Regions from separate parts of the Homo sapiens genome. Here regions 2, 3 and 4 are each linked to region 1. Evidence: promoter capture Hi-C in 16 types of primary human blood cells and fetal thymus (Javierre and others, 2016). All regions are on one chromosome and are shown on one strand. Each heading gives the region's core, a stretch centred on a gene start or on the middle of the fragment in contact. The rest is flanking DNA. Distances are from core to core; before and after follow the strand shown. Region 1 holds the start of OXSM (3-oxoacyl-ACP synthase, mitochondrial). Region 2 has its middle 4.4 kb from the start of KAT2B. Region 3 overlaps SGO1 (shugoshin 1). Region 4 has its middle 70 kb from the start of MIR466.

What was found. Contacts are between HindIII fragments. The CHiCAGO score rates a contact against its expected background, and 5 or more counts as called.
Region 2: a contact is called between a fragment that was not itself captured here and the fragment with the promoter of OXSM in region 1, in 1 of 17 cell types (activated CD4 T cells). The highest score is 9.9, in activated CD4 T cells.
Region 3: a fragment that was not itself captured here is called in contact with the fragment with the promoter of OXSM in region 1 in 1 of 17 cell types (M0 macrophages); the score reaches 6.7 in M0 macrophages.
Region 4: a fragment that was not itself captured here is called in contact with the fragment with the promoter of OXSM in region 1 in 1 of 17 cell types (total B cells); the score reaches 8.3 in total B cells.

The regions. Positions count from the first base shown.
Region 1 is chr3:25,788,559-25,791,532 of GRCh38, reverse strand. OXSM (3-oxoacyl-ACP synthase, mitochondrial) reads right to left here and starts at 1,443. Exons shown (of 3, transcript NM_017897.3): 1 at 1,386-1,443; 2 at 1-543. The coding sequence starts at 512. It also overlaps a transcript of NGLY1 not described here. RefSeq lists enhancers at 1,146-1,215, 1,226-1,295, 1,435-1,964 and a silencer at 1,398-1,617. The HindIII fragment of the contact is 1,038 bases long and covers 1,072-2,109 here.
Region 2 is chr3:20,034,575-20,037,548 of GRCh38, reverse strand. No RefSeq gene overlaps it. Among named protein-coding and RNA genes, the nearest start is that of KAT2B, 4.4 kb to the left of the region's middle. The HindIII fragment of the contact is 3,574 bases long and covers 1-2,974 here.
Region 3 is chr3:20,178,114-20,181,087 of GRCh38, reverse strand. It overlaps SGO1 (shugoshin 1), which reads left to right. Exons shown (of 8, transcript NM_001199251.3): 4 at 2,741-2,817. The region is part of intron 3 of SGO1-AS1 (SGO1 antisense RNA 1); the gene reads right to left. Among named protein-coding and RNA genes, the nearest start is that of SGO1-AS1, 5.3 kb to the right of the region's middle. The HindIII fragment of the contact is 2,324 bases long and covers 251-2,574 here.
Region 4 is chr3:31,229,998-31,232,971 of GRCh38, reverse strand. No RefSeq gene overlaps it. Among named protein-coding and RNA genes, the nearest start is that of MIR466, 70 kb to the right of the region's middle. The HindIII fragment of the contact is 7,716 bases long and covers 1-2,974 here.

The DNA.
Region 1 (2,974 bases), core at 194-2,693:
CCTTTTGTCTGAAAATTCAAAGCAGTTTCAGAAACAACTTCAAGAGGAATCATTCCCATGCCAATTGCAACACCAGTAGCCACTTGATCAGCTTCTGACTGAGGATGCCAGCCAGAATCCTTCATGGCTAATTCTGCAGCCCCAATGGCCATGATGGTGGGAGAAGACATGGACTTGATATCTGATTTGGACACAAAGTTTTGTTCATTGAACTGACCTTCATCACTACCTCTTGGCACATAAGCAGCAACACTGCAAGGGATACTCTTATACTCTTCACCAACCAGTGAAACAATTCCACTCTCTCCTCCGATAAGACGATCCCAAACCAGGTGAGTTCCAACACCAAGAGGAGTCACTAAGCCAATGCCTGTAATGACAACTCGCCTATGCAATCTGGATATTGGCACAGTTCCGAAAAACTTCCTTTTACTTCTTAACTGTTGGCATAATCTTGAACATAGAAGACGAGTGCTTGTAATTTTCAGGAAATTTTGCAGGCAGTTGGACATGATTAAGATTCAGATGATCAGAAACACATTCCTGTAAAAGACCACAACACACCTAGGAGGTATTCTTTTAAATAGCTTAAGGGCCTAAGGAAAAACATCCAAGGTGTTCCTTTGGGTGCTTGATATGAGCTGCTAATGAACACAGGGAAAATGTTACATACTTTCAATTTATACCTTAACATCAAACTATCTGTTTAAACTTACCTTCTTTTTTAGACCTTAAGTGCCGTCAGACATTTGAAGACAAATAAATGAATTGATGATTCATTCGAGTCACCAAAACAGTAATTCAATGAAAAATATAAAGGCACCTCCAGCCTGATTTGAGCTGCAGGAAGCATCCTTTGTCAGGATTACTGATAACTTCTTCTAAATAGCATTTCTGGTGTCAGTGGCACAGAAAACACATTTCAGGGCATATTCTTTTAAGTAAGTAAGTGGGCTTTATCAATCTTCAGTACTTAAGGATAACCAGCCTTTTCAAAACGCTACCCAGGGCCAAGAGCCCTAGACTGAGCGTCTGGATACATGGGTTGGCAATACACTCTGTGACCAAGCTTGCGATGGGGGAAGGGGACAAGTCTTTCCACTCCTCTAAACTTCTCCAATTGAATCATTGGTGGAAGGAGGGGTTACGACTAGTGGATCACTTCAAGGGTACTACGAAGGCCAGGGGCGGGAGTAAAAGAGTGTAGCCATTCCCTGTATCGCCTCTCAGGCACCACCACACATGTACACAGCCCGAAGAAGCATGGCGAGAGAAAAAGAAATCAGGCCCCAGGTCCTCGGACTCCCCTCTCGAAATTCAACCCCGACTTGATTTGAATGTAAAGGAGGAAAGGAGGGGCGAAGGAGGAGGGTAGCCAGCGATACCTGTAACGGGGCTACCCCGGACACTTCTCCACAGTCGGGGGCGATGACGCTCTCGAGCGCACGCGCACACGCACGTACGCTCATGCGCGCTCGCACGTACGCTCATGCGCTTTCCCACGCACGCGTCCCGTTCGACTCTCTTTCCGCCGGTTGACTTTAAGCCGCGTCACCTTGGCTGAGGTCAGACCGTGGGAGGCGGCTGGGTAGCTGTTTGCGTGAGCAGAGACGCCCCTCTCGGAACCTCAGTGACTCGCCGATAATCGAGGACCTGCCAATAACGCGATGAGGTAGCATTTTCACCCATCAAAAAGGCATTTTTCTTTGGCAGTGATAATGCCCAAATATTCCCTTTTGTCGGAGAAGGGACACCATCGTATTCTACTGGAATTGTAAGAAAGAATTAAGGAAATTCTCTGCAGTTTCAAAGTTATTGCTATAGCTCGCAACGTTATTAGTAATTGTGAGTAAAGTGGAATTAACCAAAATGGCCAACATCAGGAAATTTGTTGTGTATCTTGTGGTACATCCAAATGCCATGCAGCCGTTTAAAATAATTCTGCAGGTGAATATTTATTAATGAGATGTTGCGACTATTTGTTAGGAGACATAGTTACAAAACAGTATATATCCGTTTTTTCAAAAATAATTCTTTAAAGGTCTGCAAGATGTATACTGATTGTGATCTTTCCCTCCTTATTTTTGCTTAGCTTTATTTAATAAAGCTTTTCTACAATAAACAAATGTTTTTGTAATAAAGTTTTTACTTTTTAAAAGTTGTCACCAGGCTGTTCTGCCTATGGAGTAGTCATTCTTTGTTCCTTTACTTTCCTAATAAACTTCCTTTCACTTAAAAAAAAATTATCACCAGATTTGAGACAGTGCTCAAAAATTGTCTCCATTGTCACAATGGAGACATTTGTTTCTAAGTGTGAAAAATTCATTAACTGTTTGCTTAGAGCTGACTGCAAACCGATAAAGGGAAAATATAACATGAAAATGTAAAAAAGCAAGAAGTCGACAAGATGGTATTCATCGAACATCTGTTTTTCACATGCTATCCCAGGCGTGAGTTTTGTCCTTGCTCTTCTTTAGAAAAATGGTTGAGCATAGAATCTTCATCTGGACCTTCTAGTCATATTTATGGTTTTTTCTGGGCAATGCCTCTTGAAGCCATTGTTTCCAAGTAGAGTGCTCTGCATTCTTTCCTACCCCTACAGAAGAATGTGAGTCAAGCTTAGCTTTCCAGGTTGGTCCTGGATTTAAATGAGTTTGGAAATCTATTTTGTTTAAAATAATTCAGCAAAGCTCAGTTTGACCTTCGTCCCAGGCCTAACCAGTCACCTCTAGTTGATCCTCATTCAGTGACAAAGTAGAGTTTCTTGAAGAATTAAAACAAACACATGTGGTTATAAAGTAACACTTGATGAGTAAGTACCTAAACTTGATCTCTTTTCATTGCTGTCTTTAAAATAATAGTGTGAAAATACCTACAATATTTTCTCTGAAGCTGAACTCATAAGAAACATACAGTTTTAATGTGCTATTTCTTTTGTAATATCACAAAATCGTCTTGGCTAAGAGGTGACAAA
Region 2 (2,974 bases), core at 262-2,761, 5.8 Mb after region 1:
TAAAATAAAATTTCAACTTCAGAACACGAGATTATATAACAAGAAGTTGATAAGGTCCACCCCTTCCCATTCTCCCTGGTGCTGCAGTATACTTCAGCCAAACTCAGGAAATGCTTTCCTACCTCAGGGCCTTTGCATTTGCTGTACTATGTGGATACCCTCCACCAAACAGCATGGCTAACCCTATTCATCTGGTATTCCTTGCTCAGAGATGCCTTCCTAAAAAAGGCAAGTTTTGTGGCCATCTATTGTTATATCATCTAGCAGAGTTTCTTGCCATATTCCTTCCTACCAAGGCTATACAGCTTCTGTAATGTACCAGTAACCCTGAATCCCACAGATGGATTGAAATTATCCCCAGTAAAGGCACAGACTGTAAGGGTACAGATCAAGTGGTCAAAGTGCAGGTTTGGCCCAGTACATGGACCATGACTGACATTCTTCCCAGACACCTGCTTTTAGAAACAGCAGTTGGATATGAGTGTAAAATAAAGAGACATGTCAATGCCTAAGTGGGGCTCCTTGGGCCAACCTTCCTCTGAGGGAAGTGGCTATAATTACTGAACATTTATTTTAAATTAAATAAAATAAATCCTCCTAGGAAAAAAGTTTTGAAAATAATAAATGAATCCTAGGATGAGGAAACATAAAATCCCCTTCCCTAGTTTTCAAGCATTTATGAATTAAATCATTTCCAGTGTGAATCTTAACCATGCCCCAAATACCATTAGTGCTTTCTTTTTTTTTTGAGACAGAGCCTCGCTTTGTCGCCTGGGCTGGAGTGCAGTGGCGCTATCTCGGCTCACTGCAACCTCCATCTCCTGGGTTCAAGCGATTCTCCTGCCTCAGCCTCCCGAGTAGCTGGAATTACAGGCGCCCACCATCACGCCCAGCTGATTTTTTATATTTTTGGTAGAGATAGGATTTCACCATGTTGGCCAGGCTGGTCTCGAACCCCTGACCTCGTGATTCACCCGCCTTGGCCTCCTAAAGTGTTGAGATTACAGGCGTGAGCCACCATGCCCAGCGCCATTAGTGCTATTTTATTCAACCTTTTTTTTTTTCTTTTTGAGGCAGGGTCTAGCTCTGTCACCCAAGCTGGAGTGCTGTGTTATGATCAAGGCACACTGCAGCCTCGACCTCCTGGGCTCAAGTAATCCTCCTACCTGAGCCTCCCAAGTAGCTGGGACTACAGACATGTGCCACCACACTCGGCTACTTTTTTTTTTTTTTCCAATTTTTATTAGAAACAAGGTCTCAATATGTTGCCCAGACTGGTCTCTCACTCCTGGCCTCAGCAGTCTTCCTGCCTGGGCCTCCCAAAGTGTTGGGATTACAGCCATGAGCCACTGCACTACCCAACCTTATTTATTTTAATTCTTAGTTATCCTTAGTAACAATCTTCTATTATTAATATGAATAGACCTAAGTATATTTGGCTAAGCCTTGCCCTTGTAAAGACAGAGGGGTTTTTTTATATTGCTTTCTGTTTTAAATATTAACGCATACTTATTTCACCAGTTTACTTACCATTTACAATGAAAGTACAATGTAAGTAAAAGAAATAAAGTCGGCTTTCTTCTGAATTCAGGCTAAATGACTTTCTACTTTTCCAAAGCAGCACATGAGAATTTATTGTTTCAAGCACCTTGAAAATTATATAAGGAAATCAAATTTCCAAAGAACCGACTTTGGTGTGACCTAGATTTTCTGGAATGATATGAACATCATAAATTGTATTCCTGTTAGTGCCAGATAATTGTTTAAAATAAACCTGAGGGATTCTAATTCCCTAAATATATAAAAACATTCATATATATAGTTTCACAAATTAGGGAAAAAATCTTTCTCAAAACAGGTTTTCTAATTTAGGGTCCCCTTATAAGGGAAGCCTTTAGTATAAAAGGCTTCAATTCCTTAATCCTAATTCCTGATTGGCTGAGCACACTGCCACTGACCTTTTAAGCCTAAAATCAAAGCACAGAGTAGTGTGTTCCAATGTATAAAATAGGTGCTATACATCAGCAAATGCTTTGGCTAAGAAAAACAAAGAAAAATGACGATTGTTCAGTATAGTAACATTATATCCCTTCAAAACCACAATAGTTTTATATTGTTATAAAATATTTCAAACATATTGAAAAATAAAGTAATATATTTGTATATTCACCAACCAGATTTTTAATGTTTTCATTTTCCATAAACATATATAATAAATATGTAATTAAAGACTGCTCTTTTATATCTCTCTTTATCTCATTTCCCAATTGCCTGCCCACCCCAGAAGTAAATATGTACGGAAGTGTATCTTTGGTCATGTTTTTTGATGTTTGCAAAATAAACCCATGGAGAAGGATCAAGTGAACTTTCACCGTTAAAGGCTAGATGAAGATATTTGAGGCTTTGTGGGACGCGGTCTCTCACAACTACTCAACTCTGCCAGGGTCTCATTTCTAGGAAAGGACATGTGTTTATCCTACATAGTTAAAAATCAAGCAAGATGTTAGTATAGAAGTACTCACCAAATGCTCCCATCTTTTTTGTTATTGTCTATAATTTTTTATCTACATTTTTATGACACAAACTGACTTCTGATTTTACCACAGTATATAAGTTTGCTAGGGCTTCCATAAGAAAGTACCACAGATTGGGTGGCTTAAACACAGAAATTTATTTCTTCAGAATTCTGGAGGCTAAAAACCCAAGATCAAGGTGACAGCAAGATTGGTTTCTTCTGAGGCCTCTCTCCTTGGCTTGTGGATGGTGGTTTTTCTCCGGTGTTTTCATGTGATCTTCTCTCTGTGTGTTTCTGTGTTCTCATCTCTTCTTCTAGGGATGCTAGTCATATGGGATTAGGGCCCACCTTAATGACCTCATTTAACCTTAACTACCTCTTTAAAGACAATCTCAAAATACAGTCACATTCTGAAGTACTAGGGATTAGAATTTCAATATATGAATTTTGGAGGGACAC
Region 3 (2,974 bases), core at 163-2,662, 5.6 Mb after region 1:
CCTCCCAGGCTCAAGCACACTCAGCCTTCACCTCCCAGGCTCAGGCAATCTTCCCATCTCAGCCTCCTGAATAGGTGGGACTATAGGCATGCACTGCCACACCTGTCTAATTTTTTTGTTGGGGGTAGAGACAGGATCTTGCCATGTTTCCCAAGCTGGTCTTGAGCTCCTGGTATCAAGCAATCCTCTGGCCTTGGCCTCCCAATGTGCTGGGATTACAGGCAGAAGCCGCCACACCTGGCCTAAAGCTTTTAACAGGATTAAATTTCTAGTTGTTTTGTTTTTAATGAACATTTTTAGCTTATTTATTATAATGTCAGCATATGTTCATCAAATTTCAAAAGATAATTAAATTAGAATTGGCTTCTTAGGAATTGAGTGAGAATTGTCATCTTCATAACAGAGATCTGCAAATCCACCTCTATACTTAGGTTCTTCATCTTCCCTCTTGTTACAGTGGCAGAATGGCCCCTGTTCCTACTAAAGGCAAGCACCAACCCCAGCCACTCCCCAGCCCATGCATCCAATTTTCTCTTCTCACCTCCTCTACAACTTTATTCCTGGAATATTGTTCTCTCTTCTATATATCCCCCTCTCCACTGGATCATTTCAGTCATCATAAAGATGTGCTTTCGTATCTCTCAACCTTAGAGAAAAAGTAATGAAACCTCTCCTGGTCTCATATTTCTTTATCTCCTCATTTCTTTGCTTCCCTTCACAGCAGAACTTTTTAAAAGAAAACAGTATATTCTTCACTTCCTCAGCTTCCATTCACATTTGAAACGACTCTTTTTTTTCCTTTGAGACAGAGTCTCGCTCCATTGCCTAGACTGAAGTGCAGTGGCATATCATGGCTTACTGCAGGCTTGACCTCCCAGGCTCAAGTGATCCTCCCACCTCAGTCTCCTGAATAGCTGGAACACCACCACGCCCAGCTAATTTTTTAAAACTTTTTTGTGGAGACCATCTCACTATGTTGCCCAGGTTGGTCTTGACCTCCTGGGTTCAAGTGATACCCCTGCCTCGGCCTCCCTAAATGCTAGGATTACAGGCATGAGGTACCACGCCTGGCCTGCAGCCACTCTGAATCTAGATTTTATCCTTACCATTCTGTTGTCACTGCATGTCAAGGTCACCAAAACCTCCATGTTACCAAATTCAGTGGTCACTTCTCTTTCTTCTTGACCTTGCAGTAATAATATGCAAAACAGGGACCACTCTTTACTTGACATACTTTGATCTCTTAGTTTTCATGATATCATGCTCCCCTGCTTTTCATTCTACCTTTCTGACTGTTCCATGTCGGTCTCTTTTGCTGATTTCTTCCTCATTCTACCTGTAAATGTCAGGCATTTTATTGGCCAGGCACATTGACTCGTGGCTGTAATCAGAGCACTTTGGGAGGCTGAGGTGAGAGGATCGCTTGAGCCCAGGAGTTCAAGACCAGCCTGGGCAACACAGCAAGACTCCCATCTCTACAAAATAAAAAATAAAAATTAGCCAGTTGTGGTGGCATGCACCTGTAGTCCCAGCTACTTGGGAGGCTGAGGTAGGAGGATTGCTTGTGCCCAGGAGTTCAAGGCTGCAGTGAGCTATGATAGCACCACTACACTTCAGCTTGGGTGACAAAGCAAGACTTTATTTCAAAAAAATGAATGAATGCCAGTTGTTGTAGACTCATCTTATACCCTCTCATAGCTTTATGTACTGTCTGTCTGCTGATGCCTCCCCAGTTAATAGTACAAAATCTAAAAACAAACACATACACACATATACCCACAGCCACCATTTGCTATCTCCACTTAAAGATTTATAAGGGATCTCAAACATACCTTATATAAAGCACAACTTCCCCTTGTCTCCCCCACAGATGCTGTATACTTCCTACCTTCCTTTATAAGTCTTACTCAGTAAAGTAGCCTACATGTTTGCTTAGGCCAAAACCACAAGAGGCTTTCCTCTCCCTCATTGTTCCCATCTCCATCCCTTTTCAGTCCTTGAGCTTGACCTGTCATCTCAAGGCCTTCCACTGGGCTTCACCTCCATAGCCATGACTCTAATCTTAGCTGATATCATATCTTGCCAGATATGCAATGATGACCTCTCAGCTCTTTCTACCCCCGGCCTCTTTCAATTCAGACTGATCTTTCAAAAACTTAAATCAGTTTACTTCCTTTCTTAATATTAAGTACCTTCCCATCATACTTAGACTAAAATCTAAACTCATGGCTCTCAAGGCCCTACATTATGTGGCCCCTGCATGTACATCTCCTACTGTTCTCAGTGACTATGTTCCAGCCACAACAACCTTTCTTTCCTAAACACAGCAAGATTTTTCTTATGTGTATTTGCTGTTTCCACTGCCTTCTTTTCCTCCTGTTCTTTCAGTGGCTAGCTCCTTTGCAGTCTTCTGATTTATATCACATTCACTGTATTTAAAAGAGCAATCCAACCTGAGTTACTCTCTATCACCTCACACTGGGTATTTCCTTCATGACATTTATCGCAATCTGAAATTTTGTACATATATCTTCTCTTTTTAAAATTTTACTTCCCTGCACTAGAATGTAAGCTTTAAAAGGATAAGACTTACTCTGCTTTTGAGCTGTTATAGTCTCAGTTCCTAGAACCATGGCATGGCACCATGATAGACTGTCAACAAGTGCATATTGTTGAATAAATTAATGCTTTCTTGTGAATACTTCAGTTATAACAGTGTTTTGTTTTAATACATTAACAGAACCAGGAAATATGTTCCTCTGGAATGGACCCCAATAGTGATGACAGCTCCAGAAATTTATTTGTGAAGGATTTACCGTTAGTATCAAATTCTTTATCATGATTATTAATACTAAGAAAGGTTTAATTCTGTGATTCATTTATGAAAGGAAATGTGCATCATGTCAACTCTTATATTTGTAGTCTGTTGCTTTCTCTACTGAGAATATATTTAAGAGAATTTGATGTGTTGAAA
Region 4 (2,974 bases), core at 475-2,974, 5.4 Mb before region 1:
TACTTCCTCATATAACTTCTAATGGAGTTACTGCGCACTTCCCTGTCTCTCCCCCAAGACTATGAGCTTCTTAAGGGAAGGGGTTATGAGTCATTTCTCCCTGAAGCATCTGGTATTGTACCATGACTTTCAGGCAAGACGATTAAAGACAGTTTTAGTAGAGAGTCAGAAGAAGCGCTTTTGGGAAGCACTCTAGTTTGGCTACCTCAGTGAATAAGAAAACTGTAGTTCCAGAGTTCCAGAAACATTAACTGAGCACTGGCAAATGCCATTGACAGGGCAGGCAGAAGGCAAATGAGAAGTAGCTGAGAGGAACTGGCCTCATTCGGCTAGTGGCTTAAGGCGGTCTTGGTTAAAGAGGCTTTTCCTGGAGAGGCAACAGGGTTGTGGAAGCGGAAGTGCTAGCCACTAGTGTTGGTGAAAGTCAGATGCATCTTCTAGGAAGCACTTAAGGCTTTTCAGAGGCAGGATTGTCAGCTCAACCATGGCTTTCCCTGAAAAAGAGACCGAGGGCATGCAGGGGAGCTGGAGGGGGGCCTCTGTGTGACACCTGGGCATGGGGCTGTCCTGGCCGTGAGGGGTGGGGTGAGGGCGGAGGGTCAGAGGAAGCTCTCTCTAACCTTATTTCCCTTTAGTTTCTCATGGGACTACACCCTCAACATCAAGTCAGATGAGGGCAAACATGCCCTGGAGAGAGGAAATCACAGAATTTGGTTGTGTGGCTGAAGAGGGTAGTACAAGGGTGGAGAGGGACAGCAGCGTGGACTGGCAGGTAGCAGAGAGCTGGGTCTGCAGAAGAACTTCGGCATCTGCTCGGGGCTGACAAGAGGAGTTGGCTTCTTTGCTATCTGTCCTGCATAGCTGACCAGCAGGCCAAACTTACTGCAGCTTGTGGCTGGAGTGTTAGCCCTGATTTGCCTCAAGGATTCCAAGGGAGATTCATTTCCTCCTATTTTCTCTTGGGCCTCCATTCCCCTCAACACAAACCTTCTCAGCTAATCCCTCTGTGCTGGCTTCAGAAGAAACTGAGAGATTGGTGGCAAGGAGGGTTGGAAGCCAGAGGTGGTTTCTCCAAGTTGGGGATTGTGGTGTTTGAGGCATTGCCTTCCGTCTTTGGGGCAGACTGGGAACTTTGGTAGGGGGTAGCTGAGAACTGCTGCTCTACTTCATCTCTGATCATAGTGGAAACACAGGGATGGGACGTGGCTAAGGGGTCATCTTATCCAGACACCTATGCAATGCAGGATTCCACTTAATGGCTTCTTGTACAATGACTTAAGGCTCACTCCCTCTGGAAATTATCTTGGCTGAATATTTCCACCCTGCCCCCCCTCCCTCCAACAACTCTTTTCAGTTTCTTCTTACCCATCTGGCCACTCCTTAGTTTCCCCCCAATTTCCTTTTGCATGTTGGTGTTGCTGGATCTTTGTCCTTGGTCTTCCCACTGACTTCAACTGCCTCTTACAGATCCATGACCTCCAGTTCTATAGTGCCAGTCCTGATTACTCTGTTCCCTGGATGTCCTTTATGCCTCCAAACATGGCACAGCCAAAACTCCTCCCCCAGATGTTCCTCTTCTGAATTCCCCAGCTCAGTGAATGGAGTCATTTTTCACCCAGTTTGCCTAGTCCAAAATCTGGGTGCAATCAGCTACTCTCTTAAATACCGCCCCGCCTCCCCCCCACCCCCCACTGACCCCACCGCTGCCCCCTGACCCTCACCCCCAATAGTCTCACACACTCCCCAGCACCTCCACAGATACATGTCACCAGATGTGCTGATTAATTTCCAGGTGCCCTCCAGGCCCATCTCCCTCCTTGTCCTCCCTGCTCTGTGCCCCAGGAGGCTGACTTCTGGGCTGCGTCATCCAGGATCTATTGCCCTCCTGTTCTGGGTTGGGTTCTGTCAATGGGAGGTCCTGGGAAGATAAATAAGTTGATGCATTTATTATTCCTGCCCCTTCCCTACTGGGCTGTGGTTTGGCAGTGACTGCATTTCTTCCCCTAAGGTCTTGGCTCCTGTGAGCCTGCCCTCTCCCAGGAGTTCAGTCCTTTCTAAGTTCCAATAACCACTGCCTCCCCTTGCCCCTTCAGGTCTAGGGCTGGTAACAGCTTCCTGCTGTTGTTAGTGCTTCTGTGTGATTGTCCCTTTTGGTGCTTGTAACCCTGCCTACACTTTTCTGTGTATTGTCCCTTTAGTAAACTTTCTGCAGCTATATCTTTAAGCACCCTGGATGTTTCTTGCTAGGATGCTGCCAGATATATCAGGTCATGACATTACTATCTCCTTCATCTTCTTCAACTCTAACTTTGACTATTTAAAAAACAGGAAACTGGTTTTCTAAAACGAAATCACAAACAGTTCCAGGCAATAGTTCCAGCCACATGCCTCATTATTGTATCTGACCTGACTGTCTTGTGGTTCTTCTCATCAGTATGACGTAGAATTATTAGTCCCATACTTTGGCTTTGTTTCCTGCCTCAGGTAGCATTGATGGCCCTCCATACTTCCCTTCAAGTTTCCTACAGGGTGTTCACATGTACTCATTCCCTTGGATGCTTGCCTTCTCTGTAATATACAAAGTATGGGGCATGCACCATCAAAGCTGGCTTCATGGGTGTGAGGTCCTACACTTAGAAGGGCTCAGTGCTTGGGTTCTTGCTCTTCTGTTACTGTCTTGAAACTATTAATAATTTTCTTAAATTTATTTTTAATTTTTTGTGAGTATATAGCAGGTGTATGTATTTATGGAGTACATGAGTTCTTTTGATATAGGCGTGCAATGCTTAATAATCACATCATGGATATTGGGGTATCTATCTCCTCAGCATTTATCCTTTGTGTTATAACAATCCAATTATACTATTTTAGTTATTTTAAAATGTACAATTAAATTATTGTCAAATATAGTCAGCCTGTTGTGCTATTAAATACTAGGTCTTATTCATTCTATGTTTTTTTTGTACTCATTAAC